Regions from separate parts of the Homo sapiens genome. Here regions 1, 2, 3 and 4 are each linked to region 5. The links are contacts of gene promoters, found by promoter capture Hi-C in human tissues and cell types (Jung and others, 2019). All regions are on one chromosome and are shown on one strand. Each heading gives the region's core, a stretch centred on a gene start or on the middle of the fragment in contact. The rest is flanking DNA. Distances are from core to core; before and after follow the strand shown. Region 1 holds the start of TLE2 (TLE family member 2, transcriptional corepressor). Region 2 overlaps GNG7 (G protein subunit gamma 7). Region 3 holds the start of GNA11 (G protein subunit alpha 11). Region 4 overlaps GNG7 (G protein subunit gamma 7). Region 5 holds the start of ZNF555 (zinc finger protein 555).

Region 1 (2,700 bases), core at 176-2,675, 190 kb before region 5:
CGATCCTCCCTCCTCAGCTTCCCAAAGTGCTGGAGCTACAGGCATGACCCACCACCCCTGGCCCATTGATAAGGGCTCTTGTGCCCTTTTGTAAGGGTACAAAATGGGTTTTTGTAACCCTAACCCTTAGGTACCATTAGGTACTCGATCACCTAAGGACACAAGTCCAAGTGTCATCAAGGGGCATGGATTTTTCTCTGTTTTGTTCCCAGCTGTGCCCCAGTGTCTACAGCAGTGTGTGGTCCACAGTATGCATTTAGTACACGTTTGTTGATTGACTTCACAAACCTCTCCTGAGGTTTCTCCAAAGAGAATAAGAACTTCCCACTCCCCGGGTGGGCCTGAAGGATGCTGGCTGGATGTCTGTGGTCTCTGGTCGGGGCTGGAGCCTTTGCCGTGGGAGAGACTTGAGTCTGATGGCAGAGCTGTGGTTCTTCCAGTTCTGAGTGGGACACGGCTCCTGCCTTCAAGAAACCCAGTCTGAGAGGGGAGACAGCCCAGTCCACTGGTGATGGCAGTAGGAACACAATTCCCATCTGTGGAAGTTTGCTCTGTGTAGGGAGAGGCTGACAGCGTTCATGCACTATCTCATTTAAGTGCAGTGCCCAGTGCGGTGGCTCCCGCCCGTAATCCCAGCACTTTGGAAGGCCGAAGAGAGAGGCTTGAGTCCAGGAGTTCAAGACCAGCCTGGGCAACATAGTGAGACGCCCCCCTACTCCATCTCTGCAAAAAATTAAAAAATTAGCTGGGCGTGGTGGTGCACACCTGTAGTCCCAGCTACTGGAGAAGCTGAGGGGGAAGGATCGCTTGAGCCCAGGAGTTCGAGGCTGCAGTGAGCCATGATTGCCCCACTGTACTCCAGCCTGGGCAACACAGGGAGACCCTATCTCTGCAAAAAATTAAACCCTAAAGATAGCGCACCACCCCTGACCTTTTGCAGAGACTACTGAGGCCCCCAGAGGGCGAGGGCCCGGCATGATCTGGGAAGCAGTGTTTGCTGTGAGATTCCCTTTCTGGCAGGGTTCCCTGCCAGCGCTTGGCAAGGCTGCGTCCTGCTGACCCTTCAATCTCAACCCAATGTCACTTGCTCAGAAAAGCCATTTCCGACTCCAGACTGGTCCCCGCTCCCCGCAAGCCCCCCCCCCCGCTCCCACGGTGGGTAACACGGTGTGAATTTCTTCACTGGTTTTTCTTCTCCCGCCCCTCCGGGAGGGGGTGGGGACCCTGTTTTAAGGCACTGGGCGCCTCCCCACCCGGCCTCAGTTTCCCCAACGGCCCAGGGACTGAAGGAAGGGGGCGGGTGCCCGGGGGCCGGGGGGGGCGCGGGCGCGGGGAGGGGCGGTGCGCGGGGGTGGGCGCGGGGCGGGCCGCGGGCGCGTGGGGGCGGCGGCGCCACCTTAAGGCGGCTCAGCCCGCGGCTCCCGGCCGAGCCCCGCCGGAGGGAGGCGGCTCCGCGCGGGGCCCGCCGCCCGCGCCGCCGCCACCGAAACCCGGCCGCGGCGCGCCCGACCTTCTGCGCCGGCTGCCGCGGCCGCCCTCGCCGCGCTCCCGCCCCGGCCGCTGCCCCTGCCCGCCCCGCTCGCCCCGCGCACCCCAACCCGGGGAGGGGCTCCCACGACCCCGGGCGCGCGCGCTTGGGGGCGCGCCAGGGACTCCAGGGTCCCTTGCCCCGCGCCGCTTCTCCCTCCTCCCTCTTTCTTCGGGCAGCCTCCCCACCACCCCACTTCAGCCTCCCCCACTCTTGCCGCCTCCATATCATCAAGCTCTGGTGGCGCCTGGGGGGCTTTTCGGATCGGCAGGATGTACCCCCAGGGAAGGCACCCGGTGAGTGCGGACTGCGGGGAGGGGGCCCCCAGTGTCCGGGAACTCAGACCCTGACGTTTCCCCCACACCCCCCCCAGACCCCGCTCCAGTCCGGCCAGCCCTTCAAGTTCTCGATCTTGGAGATCTGCGACCGCATCAAAGAAGAATTCCAGTTTCTTCAGGCTCAATACCACAGGTGAGGGGGGCCGCCCCAGGGGCCGCGGGAGTTCACCTGGGCGCCGGGGCGGGGCGAGGCCTCCGGGGTATAGGGCGGGGAGGAGGGGCTCCCGGTTGGAGGGGGGGCGCGACAAAGGCCTCCAGGTGGAAGCGCAGGTGCAGAGGGGTCTGGGGACAGTCAGAGCTGGGGCATTTGGAGCCCAGGAAGGGGCGGGGAGGGACTGGGACAGGAGGTGGGGGGAGGTCTGTAAGGAAGTCGGGAGGGGGAGATCCAGCCTCTCACTTTGGAAGCCGGCCCACATGGGGCGGGTGGGAGCCCCTTGCCCTCTCTCTTCTTCTCAGCCTCAAGCTAGAATGTGAGAAGCTGGCCAGCGAGAAGACGGAAATGCAGCGACATTATGTCATGGTGAGGGCACTTATGATGCCAGGGTGAGGGGAGAGGCGGGCAGGGCTTTGAGTCACGGTGGACTCTGGGGTAGGTCCCTGCCCCACTCCGAACCTCGTCTTCCCCGTCTGTACATTGGGCAGGTTGGGATTTCAGGCTCTCTAGGAGGGTCCTCCCAGCTCTGGGAATGGGGAGACAGGGAGGACCCCTCGCCTGATGGGAGTCTCTGTCGGGCCAGGGCCTCTGGACACTTCCTACCTGCCCTGCCTCTCTGGGGAGAGTAGAGGGGGCCCTTCCAGGCAGAGCCCCCGCTTCCTCCTCTGGGACCCCGTGGA
Region 2 (2,700 bases), core at 189-2,688, 180 kb after region 5:
CACTCTGTGGCCCAGGCTGGGTTGCAGTGGCGTGATCTCTGCTCACTGCAACCTCCGCCTCCCGGGTTCAAGCGATTCTGCCGCCTCAGCCTCCCAAGTATCCGGGATTACAGGCGCAGCACCTTGCCCGGCTGATTTTTGTATTTTTAATAGAGACGGGTTGGGTTTCACCATGTTAGCCAGGCTGGTCTCGAACTCCTGACCTCAAGTGATCCACCCGCCTCAGCCTCCCAAAGTGCTGGGATTACAGGCGTGAGCCACCGCGCCCGGATGAGTGTGTGTTTTGTGTGAAGGGATGCTCTGTGCTAACTCTGCCGTGTGATGTTGAGGATCGGAGGTGAATCTTTTTTGACAGGACCCTCATCTAATTTCAGGATGGAAGACTGGAACACTGCCTAGATGAGAGTATTTAGTTGCTGAAATGGTGCTATTTTGTCTTAGACTGTTTTGCGAGGGTCTCAACCAATGGCCTTGGGGGCAAATCCAGGCCACCTGTTACTATAAATAAAGTTTTATTGGCACACGATGGGCCATGCCCATTTATTTATGCATAGTCTATGGCTGCTTTCAAAATACAACAGCAGAACTGTGTAGCTGCAACAGAGAACATATGTTCCGTAAGGCTGAAAATTTTTACATCCTGCCCTAGACAGAAACACTTTGCTGTGCTCTGGTCTAGTCCAGAAAGGAGGTAATCTGGCCAGGCAAGGTGGCTCACACTTGTAATCCCAGCACTTGGGGAGGCTGAGCAGGGAGGATCGCTTGAGCCCAGGAGTTCAAGGCCAGTCTGGGCAACATAGCAAGATCCTATCTCTATGAAAAGTAAAAACTAAAAAAGCAGGCATGGTGGCTCACACCTATGTAATCCCAGGACGTTGGGAGGCTGAGGTGGGCAGATCACCTGAGGTCAAGAGTTTAAGACCAGCCTGGCCGACATGGCGAAACCCCATCTCTACTAAAAATACAGAAATTAGCCGGGCATGTTGGCAGGTGCCTGTAATCCCAGCTACTCGGGAGGCTGAGGCAGGAGAATCCCTTGAACCCGGGAGGCTGAGTTTGCAGTGAGCTGAGATCGTGCCACTGCACTCCAGCCTGGGCGACAAGAGCAAGACTCTGTCTCAAAATAAAAATGAATAAATAAATACAATAAAAATTAAAACATAAGCCGGGCACGGTGGCACTTTGGGAGGCTGAAGCAGGCAGATCACCTGAGGTCAGGAGTTCGAGACCAGCCTGACCAACATGGTGAAACCCTGTCTCTACTAAAAATACAAAAATTAGCTGGGCGTGGTGGCGGGCGCCTCTAATACTGGCTATATGGGGGACTGAGGCAGGAGAATCACTTGAACCCGGGAGGCAGAGGCAGTGAGCCAAGTTCGCACCACTGCACTCTAGCCTGGATGACAGAGCAAGACTCCATCTCAAAAAATAAGTAAAATAAATTGAAAAAGAATAATAAAAGGAGGTAATCCAGGTTCTAAATAATAAAGCCAGTATGTGCCATGACCCATGGCTCAGACACCACTTTAAACATTTTATAGATACTCATTTATGTAATCTCCAAAACCAGTCTCACAGGGTGGATGCTGCTTCGATGTGCATTCTACAGAGTGGGAAACTGAGGCACAGCGACAGTGGCAAGGGACTGAAGGTCACCCAGCCAGACAGCGAGTCGTGAAGTCAGAATGGAGTAGCTCTTGTCCAGCACTCCACCTTGGCCATACCAGAGCGTACGTCCCCACCCAATCCTTCCTCGGGACTCAGTGGAGCTATTTTCACATTGAGGGGAAATAGAAATCCGTTCGTTCTCATTTTCTTTCTTTTTTTTGTCCCGCATGGCCCTCTTCCCAAATCCTTGTTGCCCGTCTCACCAGACATTCCAGTTCCAAGAGGTGGGGTGTGGCGAGGACTGTCCAGCACGGCAGGGTGATCCTGCCCCCCCCCCCCCAGGGGACACTGGGCCATGTCTGGGGACATTTGTGGCTGTCACCATTGAGAAGTGCTCCGGGCATGCAGTGGCTGGAGGTCACGGATGCCGCTCAGCGTGCTGCAGTGCTCAGGACGGCTCCATCCCAGAGAATGGTACAGCCCCAGTGTCCACCGTGCCTGGGAGGAGAGACTCAGCATTCATTATTTGGAGAAGAAATGGAGTCTGCTTCCTGCTCACCAGGACACACTCCTGATGGGGCAGACGGTGTAAACCAGGGGACCCCAGCTCGTGGGATTCACCTCCTCTCTCCCTCCCCCCAACTAAAGGTGTGGATTTCAATGTGTGCAGCCTCCTGGGACCTCAGCAGGACAGAAGATCAGGGGACAGAGTATCTTGGGGGTCCGTGGAATTTCCTAATTCAGGGGGTGTCAACTGAGGGTGATTCTGCCCCAGGGGACACTGGGTGTTGTCTGAGGACATTTGTCGTTGTCACAACTTGAGGATGGTCGTGGCGTGGAGTGGGTGGAGGCCAGGGACACTGCTCAGCACCCTGCAGTGTCCGGGACAGCTGCACCCTAGAGAATGACCCAGCTCTGAATGTCCACGGTTTCCAGGGGAGAGACCTTGCATTAACTGGCAAAAAAATGAGTTTGCTCCCTGCTCACAGTAGACACCAGAATAGATTCCCGATGGGGCAGACGGTGTCAGCCGGGGCCATCCTCCCAGAGTGACCTAGAGGACTGGGTGAGGAGGGTCTCTAGAGCACTGAG
Region 3 (2,700 bases), core at 200-2,699, 250 kb before region 5:
TGCTCTCAACGAGGACTCAGCGTGGCTCCCACCAGGACTCTAAGGAAGGGGGCGGGGGAGGCTGCCGAGATAGCTGCTTGGGACAACAAGCAAAGGCTCCCTCAGGTGTCAACCGCCCCACCCTCAGCTGAGCGGAACCCTGAGGAGAGGAAAGACTGTCTTTTTCCCACAGGGTGCATTCCAGCCAAGAGGAGTACGGGGTTTCCCGGAACAGGAAGGCAGGAGAATGGCCCTGAAGGGAATGTGGGGATAGGGGACACGGAGGAGTCTTCGGGGGGATGGGGGGGTGTACAGGGCCTGCATGGAGGGTACAGGGCCTGCATGGAGTGTACAGGGCTCTGCCTGGAGGGAAGGGTCAACGCGGGGCCCTGAGCAGTGAGGGGTGAGTGTGCCCTGTGGGTTACAGCCCAAAGGTCTGGCCCTGAAGGGGTAGCGAGGGGTGGGTACTCCGGTGGGGTAAGGTCAGAAGGTCCCTGTGCAGGGAGGGACTGGTCCCTTGAGAAGGAACAGAGGGCAAATCCTGAAGAGTCCTGGAGGCCCAATGTAGACAGCAGAAGCTGGGAGCTGACCTAGGAGTGATCGGGGGCCTGATCCAGACAGGACAGACACAGGCTGACACCGGAGAGTCCCAGGTGCCAACATGAACAGTTAAGGCAGGGGCTGACCCCAAAGAAATCAGGGGCCCGCAGCTGACCCCGGAGGGTCCCAGGTGCCGACCTAGACAGCAAAGGCAGGGCTGACCCCAGAGGGTCCCGAGCCGACCCAGACGACACAGGCAGGGCTGATCCCGGAGGGCCCCGCCCCGACCCGGACAGGCAGTGAAGGCACAGGCAGGGCTGACACTCGAGGGTCCCGCGACCCGGACAGGCAGGGAAGGCACAGGCAGGGCTGACCCCGGAGGGTCTCGCGACCCGGACGGCACAGGCAGGGCTGACCCCGGAGGGTCCCGGCCCGACCCGGACAGGCAGGGCAGGCACAGGCAGGGCAGGGCCCGCAGCCGGCAGGCCCGGGGGCCGCACTCACCGAGCAGCAGCAGCTTGAGCTCGCGCCGGGCGTCGCGCTTGTCCCGCCGCAGCTGCTTCTCGATCTCGGCGTTGATCCGCTTGGACTCCTTCACCTCATCGCTCAGGCAACACGCCATCATGGACTCCAGAGTCATCGTCCCGGCCCCGGCCGACGCGGCCGCCTGCCCGCCGCCGCCCCCCGGCCCCCGGCCCGGCCCTGGCCGGAGCCGCCTCGGCCGCCGCCCGCCGCGGCCCTCCGGCCTCGGCCACCGGCCCTCGGCCCCGGGCCGGCCCGCCCCGCCTCGGCCGCCGCCTGGCGAGCCGCCGGGTCCCCGCTCGGGCCGCGCCAGCCGCGGACTCCCGCGCGGCCGCACTCAGCCCGCGCCGCCGCCGCAGCCACCGCCAACCGCAGCCGCCGCAACCGAGCGACAGCGCCGGACAACCTAGCAGGCTGGGAGCGCAGCCCGCGACGGGCAGACGGTGCGGCCAATGGGAGGGGCCGGCGGCCAAGCGCGCCCACCATGGGGGCGGGACTAGCGGCCTGGGCGGGGCGTCGGCGGGCGCGAAAGGGGCGGGGCGGGGCGAGGGCGGGGGGCCCGCGGGTTTGGTTGCGCCGACGTGGGAAGGGGGACGCGCAGCCGGGAGCCGGGGCGGGGCCGCCCGGGATTGTGGGAATGTGGCGGACTCGGCCCGGCCAGGCTCGGCTCCGCTCGGCTCCGTTCGGCCCCGCTCGGTCCCGCTCGGCTCGGCCCAGGCGCGGTGGCGGAGGCGCGCACGCGGCCGCTGCGCTCTCTGGGTCTCCAGGTGCCTGGGCAGCAGTCGCTGCCCCCGGGAAGCGCCCTGACATTGCCTGACAGGAACCTTCACTCATCCATTAAAAAGCGTTAATGGAGGTCGGGCGCGGTGGCTCACGCCTGTAATCCCAGCACTTTGGAAGGCCGAGGCGGGCGGATCACCTGAGGTCTGGAGTTCGAGACCAGCCTGACCAACAGGGAGAAACGCCGTCTCTACTAAAACTACAAAATTAGCCCGGCGTGGTGGTGCACGCCCGTAATCCCAGCTACTCGGGAGGCTGAGGCAGGAGAATCACTTGAACCCAGGAGGCGGAGGTTGCAGTGAGCCGAGATCACGCCATTGCACTCCAGCCTGGGCAACAAGAACGAAACTCCGTCTCCAAAGAAAAAAAAAAAAAAAGAGGGCCGGGCGCGGTGGCTCACGCCTGTAATCCCAGCACTTTGGGAGGCCGAGGCGGGTGGATCACGAGGTCAGGAGATCGAGACTATCCTGGCTGACACGGTGAAACCCCGTCTCTACTAAAAATACAAAAAATTAGCCGGGCGTGGTGGCGGGCGCCTGTAGTCCCAGCTACTCGGGAGGCTGAGGCAGGAGAATGGCGTGAACCCGGGAGACGGAACTTGCAGTGAGCTGAGATCATGCCACTGCACTCCAGCCTGGGCGACAGAGCGAGACTCTGTCTCAAAAAAAAAAATTAAAAAGCGTTAATGGGACACCTACTGTGTATCAGGCATTAATGGGACACATTCTATATGCCAGGCACGGACCAGAGATTAATGGAGTGCCTGCTGTCCATCAGGTGTCAATCAGGCCTTACTGCAGTGCCTGCACCATTCCAGGCCAGGTATACGCATTCATGAAATGCCTACAGGATACCAGGCACTGCTGTAAGCCCGTTAAG
Region 4 (2,700 bases), core at 103-2,602, 150 kb after region 5:
ACAGACGTGAGCCACCGTGCCCGGCCTCCATTTTTAAATGGTTGGAAAAAAAAGTCAAAGGAAGCCCTGCTTCTACCCGCCGCCAAAAGAAGCAAAAAACAAAAGTCAAAGAAAAGGCCATGACACATGACAATTATATGGCATTCAGATTTTAGTGTCCAGAAATAATGTTTTATTGGCACACTGCTCTGTGTATTCTGCTACCATGGTGTAGTTAAGTCGTTGCCGTAGAGAGTGGCTCCACCGCAAGGCTGAAAACACTGGGTATCTGGACTCTTACCGAAAAAGCGTGTTGGCCCTCGAGTCCATCTCGCACGCTTTATGCATGGGAAAACTGAGGTCTGGAGGTTTCACGAGTTAGTGGTCATGCTGGGACTTGATCTTGGAACTTTGTACTTTAGCATTTGTCATGTCATTTCAGCCTCTGTGTTGTCAGAGCTCTAACAGTTAACTTCAGAGAATTGCATCGAATATGGTTTTTTTTTTTTTTTTTTTTTTTTTTTGAGTTGGAGTCTCACTCTGTAGCCCAGGCTGGAGTGCAATGGCGCCATCTCAGCTCACTGCAGCCTCCGCCTCCCAGGTTCAAGTGATCCTCCTGCCTTAGCCTCCTGAGTAGCTGGGATTACAGGCGTCCACCACCACACCCGGCTATTTTTTGTATTTTTAGTAGAGACGGGGTTTCACCATGATGGCCAGGCTGGTCTCGAACTTCTGACCTCAGGTGATCCACCCGCCTTGGCCTCCCAAAGTGCTGGGAGGCCCACCGAGCCCGGCCCAAATGTGGTCTTGTTAGGAGCGTTTATTCCTGTAGCCTCCATAATGAGAAGGGCTTAATGATTTGGGAACAATTTTATATAATTATTTTTTTTCCCCTATAACACGGTGCCATGCATAGTATGATTGGCATTTTTTTCCCCCTTTTTTTTTGCATTATTTTTATTTTTGTTTATTTTTTTCTTATTTATTTATTTATTGTATGTATTTATTATGTTGGGGCAAACATAATTGTGGTCTTTGCCATTAAAAGTAATATTTTTTAAATTTACATTTACATTTTTTTTTGAGACAGAGTCTTACTCTGTCGCCCAGGCTAAGTGCAGTGGAGTGATCATGGCTCACTGTAGCCTCCAACTCCTGGGCTCAAGCGATCCTCCCACCTCAGCCTCCTGAGTAGCTGGGACCACAGGCACGCAACCCCGTGCCTGGCTAATTTTTGTTTTATTGTAGAGATGAGGTCTCGCTATTTTGCCTAGGCTGGTCTCGAACTCCTGAACACAAGTGATCCTGCCACCCCGGACTCCCAAAGTGTTAGGAGGACAGACGGGAGCCACTGTGCCCGGCTAACAATGGGTTCATTTCTCTCAACTCCACACTTTATTCAAATGTCATTAATCTTCCCCTAATGTCCTTTCCTGCCCCAGGACCCATCTAGAATCCCACGTGACATTTAGCCGGCTCGTCTCCGGGGGTTCTTCCAGGTTGGGACCATGTCTTAGATGTTCGTTACCTCTCGTGACCTGGACGGTCTTAGGGGGACCGGCTGGGTATTGTGCAGACTTACTTCTGATCTAGGTTTGTCAGATATTTCTCTCGTGATCAGACCGGGGTTACGGGTTTCGGGAAAGAACACGTAGGGGTGAGGTGCCCTGTTGCTCTCTCCCTGCTGGGGATCCTTGAGACCCTGGTGACTTCCTACTGGTGCTGTTAACCTGGTTCTCCCAGCCCAGGTGGCCTTAGCCCACCTACCAGCTACTCTGAGGTCATTCTTGCTGAGGGAACTCCCCACTTCCCCAGAGCACTGACACCGACTCCATCCTTCGTACGGCAAACTTTGCTTTTCATCTTTGCATCATGATTTCTTTTTTCTTTTGTTGAGACGGAGTCTCGCTCTGTCGCCCAGGCTGGAGTGCAGTGGCGCGATCTTGGCTCACTGCAAGCTCCACCTCCTGGGTTTACACCATTCTCCTGCCTCAGCCTCCCGAGTAACTGGGACTACAGGCACCCGCCACCATGCCCGGCTAATTTTTTGTTATTTTTAGTAGGGACGGGGTTTCACCGTGTTAGCCAGGATAGTCTCGATCTCCTGACCTTGTGATCTGCCCAGCTCGGCCTCCCAAAGTGCTGGGATTACAGGCGTGAGCCACCGCGCCCGGCTATTTTATCTGGAGGCAGAGTTTTGTTCTTGTTGCCCAGGTTGGAGTACAGTGGCACGATCTCAGCTCACTCAGGTTCAACTGATTCTCCTGCCTCAGCCTCCCAAATAGTTGGGATTACAGGTGCGTGCCACCTTGCCCGGCTAATTTTTTGTATTTTTAGTAGAGATGGGGTTTCGCCGTGTTGGCCAGGCTGGTCTCGAACTCCTGACCATGTGATCTGCCTGCCTCGGCCTCCCAAAGTGCTGGAATTACAGGCGTGAGCCACCGCGCCCGGCATCATGATTTAAACTTCTTGGCCAGGCTGGTGGCTTACTCCTGTCATGCCAGCACTTTTTTTTGTTTGTTTGTTTTTTGAGATGGAGTTTCACTCTTGTTGCCCAGGCTGGAGTGCAATGGTGCGATCTCGGCTCACCGCAACCTCTGCCTCCCGGGCTCAAGCGATTCTCCTACCTCAACCTCCCAACTAGCTGGGATTACAGGCATGGGCCACCATGCCTGGCTAATTTTGTATTTTTAGTAGAGGCAGGGTTTCTCCATGTTGGCC
Region 5 (2,700 bases), core at 61-2,560:
AGGCTTGAGCCACCGCGCCCGGCCTGGAAATATTTTATCTTCCAACTTCTACTAATTAAATGTACGTTTCACTTCCTAAAAACTGCTGACTCGAAAAAAGGAAAATCTTTTCACAGTGACAAACCCAGGGAGGGGTCAAGTCTGGCCAGGCTACCACGACGGACGCCCTCCCACCCCCAACTCAGGTGTTGCCTCAGCAAGGAATCCCATTGCTAGTACTCAAAACAGAACTGAGAAACGTCTTCAAATCCACACTTTCTAGGGAACCGTGAAAGAATATATTTCCGTGGTTTTAGCCCCCTCGTTTGCAGTCAGTTGCTACAGCAGTCCGAGGACACTAATGCACCAGCCTCCCGGGCGTCCCCGCTGTGGGTCTGCGTGCGTTTGCTTTTGGGGTCCTCGCTCTCCCTTGTTTCTCTAGTCTTTTCAGTTACTTTTCTTCCTTGTGTGTGAGAGCCCAGGGACCAGGAACCCTTGTTTTTTTTCCCCTTACCTACCCCAGGCATCTTGGGGTCAGAGGGGACAAGAAGTCCTCAAGAAGGAAAACCGGGACTCAGGGGAGGAAACCTCGCACGCCCCAGGGGCTGCCTTTGCAGGTGGGGGCGTCTCCGCCCCCGCCGAGGCCCCACCGCTCCCGGGCTGTCCCGGGAGGAACCCAGGGTCCCCCAGAGACCGCGGCCGGAGGCGCGGGGCCTCCAAGGAGCTGAGCCGCGGGAGCGCGAGCGGAGGCGGCACCGACCAGGGACCCGCACCCCAGGAGGCACCGCGGCGTCGGCCCCAGGGCGGGTCCCGGGGGAGCCTGGACCGCACCTCGGGGTCTCGGGCGACTCTGCCTCCCGCGGCCCGGGGGTCCCGAAGCCGCAGCGAAACGCTCCGAGGCGTCGCGGCCCCGGGCGGGGCGTGGGGGGTCGGGAGCGCAGGGACGCGGGGACCCCGGGACGACGGGGACGGAGTCGGGCTCCGGGCGCCGCTCCCCGCTCTGCAGCCTTGGGGCCAGAGGCGGGCGGGGACCCGGAGCTCGGAGCGCCCTAGCCGCGACCTCAGCGCGGGAGGCGGGGCCGGGCGGGACCCCCGGGGCCCAGGCTCCCGTCCTGCGCCGCCCTCGCCGGGGCCGCCCCCCGCGTCCCTCAGCTCCCCCCAAGCCGCGGTCTCGGGCGGTCGCCGGTTCCTGCTGCCCCGCACCGGGATCCTCTCCTGCGCCACACTCACCATGTCCCGGGGCGATTTCTTCGCTACCGGCGCAGGTGAGCGCGACAGGAACCGGGACGCCAGGGACCGCTAGGGGCAGGCGGGGCACTCACGGCTAGGACAGAGGCGTCCCGTCCCAGGGGCCTGATTAGACAGAGCTCGGGAAGCCGCGCTTCTGATTGGACAGTGCTGCCAACGTCGGCGACTCTGATTGGAGAATTCCCCAGTCCGTCCCCTGGCGCTGTAAATTGGGCAGTTCCCCGGATTCCGATTGGGCGTCCCTCATTGGATACTTGTCTCGGCCCCGCCCCCGCCCGTCCTGACTGGGTAGTTCCCTAGGGCCCACCCCCTGCCGGTGAGTGACGGGAGCGTTGCGAACACGCGTGGCTGTCCCGCCCTGCGGGGACACTGGCTTCTGGGCGAACTGGTTTCAGCCCGGGGCGGAATCGCCCTCTCCCCGCAGTTCGGGCGCCCCGCCCGCGTCCTCCTCCGGGACGGGCGTGGGAACTCCAGACTAGTTTCCTCACGAGGCGACCCCTTGTCCGGACAGGAGGTGGATGCAAGCGGGCGGCCCGGGCCTGGCAGGGCGAACGGGGGCTGGGCGCCGGGTCCGAAGGGCCGAGACCTACGTGGGGGCGGGACCCGCAGACGTGACGTCATCGCGCTGCGGGCGACATGGAGACCCCGCCCAGGGGGCTGCGAATCCGGAGACCCGGTCTGGGGGAGGCCGAACCCAAAGCCTGGCAGGGGGCAGGAGCTTTGCTCAAATCAACCAGAAGATATGAGATGTTCATTAAAACCCTCACATTTGGCTGGGCGCAGTGGCTCACGCCTGTAATCCCAGCACTTTGGGAGACCGAGGTGGACGGATCATCTGAGTTCAGGAGTTTGAGACCATCGTGGCCAATATGGTGAAACCCTTTCTCTACTAAAAATACAGAAATCAGCCCGGCGTGGTGCCGGGCGCCTGTAATCTCAGCTACTGGGGATGCTGGGGCAGGAGAATTGCTTGAACCCGAGAGGTGGAGGTTGTAGTGACCCGAGATCGCCCCACTGCAGTCTAGCCTGGGCGACAGAGTGAGACTCCATATTAAAAAACAAAAAAACTCTCAAGTTCATATTTTAAACTCTAAGGAAAATGTTTTCAGATCATTTTTTTAAGTACATCCCCCCAAAATTTGGAAGATTGAAAAGCTGGCCGGGCGCTGTGGCTCACGCCTGTAATCCCAGCACTTTGGGAGGCCGAGGCGGGCGGATCACCTGAGGTCAGGAGTTCAAGACCAGCCTGCCCAACATGGCAAAACCCTGTCTCTACTAAAAATACAAAATTAGCCGGGCGTGGTGGCGCGCACCTGTAATCCCAGCTAGGGAGGCTGAGGCAAGAGAATCGCTTGAGGCCGGGCACGGTGGCTCACGCCTGTAATCCCAGCACTTTGGGAGGCCGAGGCGGGCGGATCACGAGGTCAGGAGATCGAGACCATCCTGGCTAACACGGTGAAACCCCGTCTCTAC

What was found. Contacts are between HindIII fragments. The study calls those that stand out against the background at their distance.
Region 1: a contact is called between the fragment with the promoter of TLE2 here and the fragment with the promoter of ZNF555 in region 5, in 3 of the 25 tissues and cell types used here (bladder, lymphoblastoid cells and mesendoderm cells).
Region 2: a contact is called between a fragment that was not itself captured here and the fragment with the promoter of ZNF555 in region 5, in 1 of the 25 tissues and cell types used here (IMR-90 fibroblasts).
Region 3: a contact is called between the fragment with the promoter of GNA11 here and the fragment with the promoter of ZNF555 in region 5, in 5 of the 25 tissues and cell types used here (IMR-90 fibroblasts, aorta, pancreas and 2 more).
Region 4: a contact is called between a fragment that was not itself captured here and the fragment with the promoter of ZNF555 in region 5, in 1 of the 25 tissues and cell types used here (IMR-90 fibroblasts).

What each region holds. Positions count from the first base shown.
Region 1 is chr19:3,028,005-3,030,704 of GRCh38, reverse strand. TLE2 (TLE family member 2, transcriptional corepressor) reads left to right here and starts at 1,425. Exons shown (of 20, transcript NM_003260.5): 1 at 1,425-1,824; 2 at 1,902-1,999; 3 at 2,323-2,386. The coding sequence starts at 1,801. The HindIII fragment of the contact is 30,131 bases long and covers 1-2,700 here.
Region 2 is chr19:2,664,610-2,667,309 of GRCh38, reverse strand. The region is part of intron 1 of GNG7 (G protein subunit gamma 7); the gene reads left to right. Among named protein-coding and RNA genes, the nearest start is that of MIR7850, 35 kb to the right of the region's middle. The HindIII fragment of the contact is 9,228 bases long and covers 1-2,700 here.
Region 3 is chr19:3,093,111-3,095,810 of GRCh38, reverse strand. It overlaps GNA11 (G protein subunit alpha 11), which reads right to left and starts at 1,449. Exons shown (of 7, transcript NM_002067.5): 1 at 1,024-1,449. The coding sequence starts at 1,159. RefSeq lists enhancers at 1-656, 657-1,644 and silencers at 941-1,070, 1,391-1,510, 1,531-1,780. The HindIII fragment of the contact is 21,058 bases long and covers 1-2,700 here.
Region 4 is chr19:2,687,426-2,690,125 of GRCh38, reverse strand. All of the region lies in intron 1 of GNG7 (G protein subunit gamma 7), which reads left to right. Among named protein-coding and RNA genes, the nearest start is that of GNG7, 14 kb to the left of the region's middle. The HindIII fragment of the contact is 8,454 bases long and covers 1-2,700 here.
Region 5 is chr19:2,840,085-2,842,784 of GRCh38, reverse strand. It overlaps ZNF555 (zinc finger protein 555), which reads right to left and starts at 1,310. Exons shown (of 4, transcript NM_152791.5): 1 at 1,210-1,310. The coding sequence starts at 1,212. RefSeq lists silencers at 930-979, 1,020-1,319, 1,540-1,729, 1,740-1,849. The HindIII fragment of the contact is 15,507 bases long and covers 1-2,700 here.